Linked DNA regions of Homo sapiens: region 1 is linked to region 2. The links are contacts of gene promoters, found by promoter capture Hi-C in blood cells and fetal thymus (Javierre and others, 2016). All regions are on one chromosome and are shown on one strand. The core of a region is centred on a gene start or on the middle of the fragment in contact, and the rest is flanking DNA. Distances in the headings are between cores, read along the strand shown.

Evidence for each region. Contacts are between HindIII fragments. The CHiCAGO score rates a contact against its expected background, and 5 or more counts as called.
Region 1: a contact is called between a fragment that was not itself captured here and the fragment with the promoter of GREB1L-AS1 in region 2, in 11 of 17 cell types (activated CD4 T cells, non-activated CD4 T cells, M2 macrophages and 8 more). The highest score is 9.4, in activated CD4 T cells.

What each region holds. Positions count from the first base shown.
Region 1 is chr18:20,931,977-20,935,875 of GRCh38, reverse strand. No RefSeq gene overlaps it. Among named protein-coding and RNA genes, the nearest start is that of ROCK1, 180 kb to the left of the region's middle. RefSeq lists enhancers at 1-334, 335-940, 941-1,548, 1,549-2,154, 2,155-2,762 and 2 more. The HindIII fragment of the contact is 5,772 bases long and covers 1-3,899 here.
Region 2 is chr18:21,449,700-21,452,296 of GRCh38, reverse strand. GREB1L-AS1 (GREB1L antisense RNA 1) reads left to right here and starts at 1,250. Exons shown (of 4, transcript NR_187982.1): 1 at 1,250-1,414. GREB1L (GREB1 like retinoic acid receptor coactivator) reads right to left here. Exons shown (of 33, transcript NM_001142966.3): 12 at 2,461-2,597; 13 at 1,146-1,274; 14 at 80-214. LOC124900410 (small nucleolar RNA SNORD23) reads left to right here and starts at 1,541; the gene lies at 1,541-1,644. The HindIII fragment of the contact is 737 bases long and covers 1,052-1,788 here.

The sequences.
Region 1 (3,899 bases), core at 65-2,564, 520 kb after region 2:
TTTCCTTTTGCACCGTAAGCGTCAAAGCGCTCCAAGTGTCCACATCCAGATACTACGGAAAGAGGGTTTCAAACCTGCTCTATGAAAGGGAATGATCAACTCTGTGACGTGAATGCAGACATCATAAAGCAGTTTCTGAGAATGTTTCTGTCTAGGTTTTCTATGTTGATACTCCCGTTTCCAACGAAATAGTGAGAGCTATCCAACTATCCACTTACATATTCTACAAAAAGAGTGTTTCCAAACTGCTGTATCATAAGAAAGGATGAACTCTGTTAGTTGAGGACACACATCACAAAGAAATTTCTGAGAATGCTTCTGTCTAGTTTTTATGGGAAGATATTTCCGTTTTCAACATAGGCCTGAAATCGCTCGAAATGTCCATGTCCACATACTACAGAAATAGTGTTTCAAACCTGCTCTATGAAAGGGAATGATCAACTCTGTGACGTGAATGCAGACATCATAAAGCAGTTTCTGAGAATTTTTCTGTCTAGGTTTTCTATGTTGATACTCCCGTTTCCAATGAAATAATGAGAGCTATCCAACTATCCACTTACATATTCTACAAAAAGAGTGTTTCAAAACTGCTGTATCATAAGAAAGGATGAACTCTGTTAGTTGAGGACACACATCACAAAGAAATTTCTGAGAATGCTTCTGTCTAGTATTTATGGGAAGATATTTCCGTTTTCAACATAGGCCTGAAATCGCTCGAAATGTCCATGTCCAGATACTACAGAAATAGTGTTTCAAACCTGCTCTATGTAAGGGAATATTCAACTCTGTGACTTAAAAGCAAACATCACAAAGAAGGTTCTGAGAATGCTGCTGTCTACTTTTTATATGTAATCCCGTTTCCAAGGAAATCCTCAGAGCTATCCTAATATCCACTTGCAGATTCCACAACAAGAGCTTCTCAAAACTGACCTATAAATAGAAAGGTTCAACTCTGTTAGTTGAGTACATATATCCCAAAGAAGTTTCTTAGAATGCTTCTGTCTAGTTTTTATGGGAAAACATTTCCTTTTTCACCAAAGGCGTCAAAGCGCTAAAAATGTCCACTTCCAGATACTACAAAGTGTCTCAAACCTGCTCTAAGAAAGGGAATGTTCAACTCTGTGACTTGAGTGCAGATATCACAAAGCAGTTTCTGAGAGTGCCTCTGTCTAGATTTTATATGAAGGTATTCCCATTTCCTATGAAATCGTTAGAGCTATCCAAATATCCACTTGCATATTCTACAAAAGGAGTGTTTCGAAACTGCTGTATCAAAAGAAAGGTTGAACTCTGTTAGTTAAGGACACACATCACAAAGAAGTTTCTGAGAATGCTTCTGTGTAGATTTTACATGAATATAGTCCCGTTTCCAAGGAAATCCTTAAAGCCATCCAATTATCCACTTGCAGATTTTACAAAAAGAGTGTTTCAAAACTGCTGTGTAAAAAGAAACGTTCAACTCTGTCAGTTGAGTACACACATCACAAACAAGTTTCTGAGAATGCTTCTGTCTAGTTTTTATGGGAAGATATTTCCTTTTTCTCCAAAGTCGGCAAAGCGCTCCAAAGATCCATTTCCAGATACAACAAAAAGAGTGTTTCAAACCAGCTCTATGAAAGGGAATGTTCAACTCTGTGACTTGAATGCAGATATCACAAAGTACCTCCTGAGAGTGCTTCTGTCTAGATTTTATATGAAGATATTCCCGTTTCCAAGGAAATCGTCAGAGCTATCCAAATATCCACTTGCAGATTCTGCAAAAAGAGTGTTTCCAAACTGCTGTATCCAAAGACAGGTTGTACTCTGTTAGGTGGGGACACATATCACAAAGAAGTTTCTGAGAATGACTTTTCCGTTTCCAATGAAATCTACTTAAAGGTATCCAAATATCCGCTTGCAGATTCTACAAAAAGAGTCTTTCAAAACTGCCCTGTAAATAGAAAGGTTCAACTCTGTTAGTGGAGGACATACATCACAAAGCAGTTTGTGAGAAGGCTTCTGTCTAGTTTTTAAGGGAAGATATTTCCTATGTCACCGTACGCGTCAAAGCGCTCAAATGTCCACATCCAGATACTACAGAAACGGTGTTACAAACGTGCTCGATGAAAGAGAATGTTCAATTCTGTGACTTGAATGCAGACATCACAAAGCAGTTTCTGAGAGTGCCTCTGTCTAGATTGTATATGAAGATATTCCCGTTTCCAACGAAATCTTCAAAGTTATCGAAATATCCGCTTGCAGATACTACAAAAAGAGTGTTTCTAAACTGTTGTATCAAAAGAAACGTTCAACTCTGTTAGTTGAGGACACCCATCACAAATAAGTTTCTGAGAATGCTTCTGTCTACTTTTTATGGGAAGTTATTTCCTTTTTCAACATAGGCCTGACATCGCTCGAAATGTCCACTTAGAGATACTACAGAAAGAGTGTTTCAAAACTGCTCTATGGAAGGGAATGTTCAACTCTGTGACTTAAAAGCAAACATCACAAGGAGCTTCTGAGAATGCTGCTGTCTATATTTTATATGTAATCCCGATTCCAACGAAATCCTCAGAGCTATCCAAATATCCACTTGCAGATTCCACAAAAAGAGCATTTCAAACTGATCTATAAAGAGAAAGGTTCAACTCGGTTAGTTGAGTGCATATATCACAAAGAAGTTTCTTAGAATGCTTCTGTCTAGTTTTTATGGGAAGACATTTCCTTTTTCACCAAAGGCGTGAAAGCGCTCCAAATGTCCACTTCCAGATACTACAAAAAGTGTGTTTCAAACGTGCTCTAAGAAAGGGAATGTTCAACTCTGTGACCTGAATGCAGATATCACAAAGTAGCTCCTGAGAGTGCTTCTGTACAGATTTTATATGAAGACATTCCCGTTTCCAACGAAATCGTTAGAGCTATCCAAATATCCACTTGAAGATTCTACAAAAAGAGTGTTTCCAAACTGCTGTATCAAAAGAAAGGTTGAACTCTGTTAGTTGAGGACACACATCACAAAGAAGATTCTGAGAATGCTTCTGTGTAGATTTTACATGAATATAGTCCCGTTTCCAACGAAATCCTTAAAGTCATCCAATTATCCACTTGCAGATTCTACAAAAAGAGTGTTTCAAAACTGCTGTGTAAAAAGAAACGTTCAACTCTGTCAGATGAGTACACACAACACAAACAAGTTTCTGAGAATGCTTTGGTGTAGTTTTTATGGGGACATATTTCCTTTTTCACCAAAGTCGTCAAAGAGCTCCAAAGATCCACTTCCAGATACAAAAAAAGAGTGTTTCAAACCAGATCTACGAGAGGGAATGTTCAACTCTGTGACTTGAATGCAGATCTCACAAAATTAGTTTCTGAGAGTGCCTCTGCCTAGATTTTATATGAAGCTATTCCCGTTTTCAACAAAATCGTTAGAGCTATCGAAATATCCACTTCCAGATTCTACAAAAAGAGTGTTTCCAAACTGATGTATCAAAAGACAGGTTGTACTCTGTTAGTTGAGGACGCACATCACGAAGAAGTTTCTGAGAATGCCTCTGTCTAGATTTTACCTGAAGATATTCCGGTTTCCAATGAAATCCTTAAAGATCTCCAGATATCCACTTGCAGATTCTCCAAAAAGAGTCTTTGAAAACTGCTCTGTAAATAGAAAGGTTTAACTCTGTTAGCTGAGGACATACATCACACACCAGTTTGTGAGAATGCTTCTGTCTAGTTTTCATGGGAAGTTATTTCCTTTTCACCGTAAGCGTCAAAGCGCTCCAAGTGTCCACATCCAGATACTTCGGAAAGAGTGTTTCAAACCTGCTCTATGAAAGGGAATGTTCAAATCTGTGACGTGAATGCAGACATTACAAAGGAGTTTCTGAGAATGTTTCCGTCTAGGTTTTATATGAAGATACTCC
Region 2 (2,597 bases), core at 1-2,500:
AAAACCCTTAGAATGACTTAGTTTTTACAATGTCTGTCCCAAGGACTGACTTCCTCCTCTTGGTCTGAGATGACATTACCCAGGTTTTGTGTGGGAATCATAGCAGCAGCCTCCTGGGGTGACACACATTCATTAAGGTCTCCATCGAAAGGGGTAACCACACTGTCTCCTCTTCTTTGTTGCATTTTTTCCAGCAGCTTGTCTAGGTCATCGCCTATTACAAAATAGAGATAAGAAGGTTACAAGGAAGGATATGTTTGTTTCATTTTTATTAACTGCCCAAGTTGGGCAGTTAGGCTGTTCTCAGTAGATTTGTTGGTCAGCCAGCAATTCATATCAGCATTTACACTTGGCCATCTTTATAGTATACTGGTGTCTCTATATCAAGAACTACTCTCATTGATATAGTGCTTATAATTTACATGCTTTCACATGTTGTATCTCTCTTGACTTCCCTAATACTCAAAAGCAGACAGAATGGGATTAGAAAACTGAGTTCCAGGCTGGGCGCAGTGGTTCATGCCTGTAATCCCAGCACTTTGGAAGGCCAAGGCACAGGAGGATTGCTTGAGGCCAGGAGCTGGAGTCCAGTCTGGGCAACAAAGGGAGACCCAGTCTCTACAAAAAATTAAAAAATTAGCCAGGCATGGTGGCACATGTCTGTAGTCCAAGCTGCTTGGGAGGCTGAAGTGGGAGGATCGCTTGAGCCCGTGAAGAGGGGTGGTGTCAAGCAGTGAGCTATAATCACGCTACTGCACTCCAGCCTGGGCGATAGAGTGCAACACTGTAAAAAAAAAAAAAAAAAAAAAAAAAAAAAAGGAAGGAAGGAAAGAAGGAAGGGAGGGAAGGAGGAAGGAAGGAACGAACGAACAAACCGAGTTCCAGGGAGAGAGAAACTCGCCCAAGGTCACTCAACAAGGTTGTGGCTGAGCTGAGACTTTTGAATCCAGTACCAATGGGCCTTCCTCTAGACCCCCTTACTGCTTCCTGTGGTGTTAGTGACAAAATACTTAGGATAAACCATTTCAAATGAAAGATCAGCTGGCAAGCTTGAGCTCCACACTCATCTTGACAGGCTAAGATTTAAACTCAGAAAATCATACAACTAGGGGCTGCCAGTGTTGCCAAATCTTACAACCACTCACCTAATGATGTGGTTTTGAAATGTGATGCCAGGAAACTGACCTTTCCTGTGATAAGCTCATAACTAATTTCTTTCAAAAACTCACTTGTGGTGAGCATGCTCTCTGCCAGAGCTCGGGACTGGTGCTGACCTGCAGGATGGAGGAGAGAAGAGAAGACTCATCAACAGAACAAATGTTGCTGGAACATTACTTATAATGGCAACAATTGGAAACAATCAAAGGATGTCACTATAGGGACTTGGGTTAAGAAAATTATGACACATCAAAAGGTATGGACAATTATATAGCATTTGAAATATCAATTCTGACTCTAGACAGAAACAGAAATGTTTATAATACAGATGATCAGGGGAACAAAATGATGTACCTTATGTAACTGAAAATATGCACGTTTGTGTTTAATGACTAAGGAAGGTCCCTGTCCCCGCCAGGGGCTGTGAGCAACACCATGGCTGCCCCAGGGCTGGCCAATTGGGCAGATGCCCAGGGGCTGAGAACATGGGGGAAAAACAGACTAGGGAAGAGTATGAAAAACCTTATAAAAATTGTGCTTGCATGGTTATAATGAATTTGCTTTAAAAATATAAACATGTTTTTTACAAATAAAAATGAAAAAATATTAATGTATCACACTGATGAAGCTTTCTGGAAATACATGTAGCACAGAAAAATGGGCAGACAGGTTTTGTCAAAGTGAGGGGGTTTTCTTAGCTTCTTTGCTGGAAGAGGTGAGAGCCATTCAGTACAGAGAAGAGAGAAGCAAAATGTAGTCCAAATGGCTACCCAAGAGGGTGCCTGATAGAAAATCTGCACAGTGCAAAACAAACAAACAAAAATCCCCTCCCACCCCCCAATTTTGTAGTGTACCAACTTTCTGAATCTTTTCTTTAGAGACTATGTTACAATATTAAATAGACTGTTCAGTGAGAAGGGGAATATATGAGCTAATTTTCTGGCAAATTCGATTAACTGGCTTAGGCCACCTGTGGCACTGGCTTTATCACATGCTAGAGTAGTAACATTTCCAAAATCTTTAAAGGACAGCAGTTACATGAGACAGGGGTATCTGTTACTAGGGAGAGCTTTGAAATAATGCTCCCACAACCAGCTGACAGGGGCACCAGCCAAACTGAGGGCTACACAAAACCTGATCTGAGAAGGAAAGGGAAAGTTAAAATTAGGAGGATGAGCCCAAGCTCCAGCAATTAATCAGAGGTTGATTATGTGGATGCCTGAAACACATAACACACATTTTTAAATGGAAAAATGGTCGAATGAATTGATTAAACAAACAAAAAACAAAAAAATTACTCACCTAACACTACCACACAAAATTCATTTCCTCTGATTTTCGATGCACAAATTACCACCACATAATCTGGCAGCCTTTGATAGTGTCTCATTTCACTGAGAGTCCTTAAGGTCTCTGAAATGCCCTCCGCCAAAGAGTTC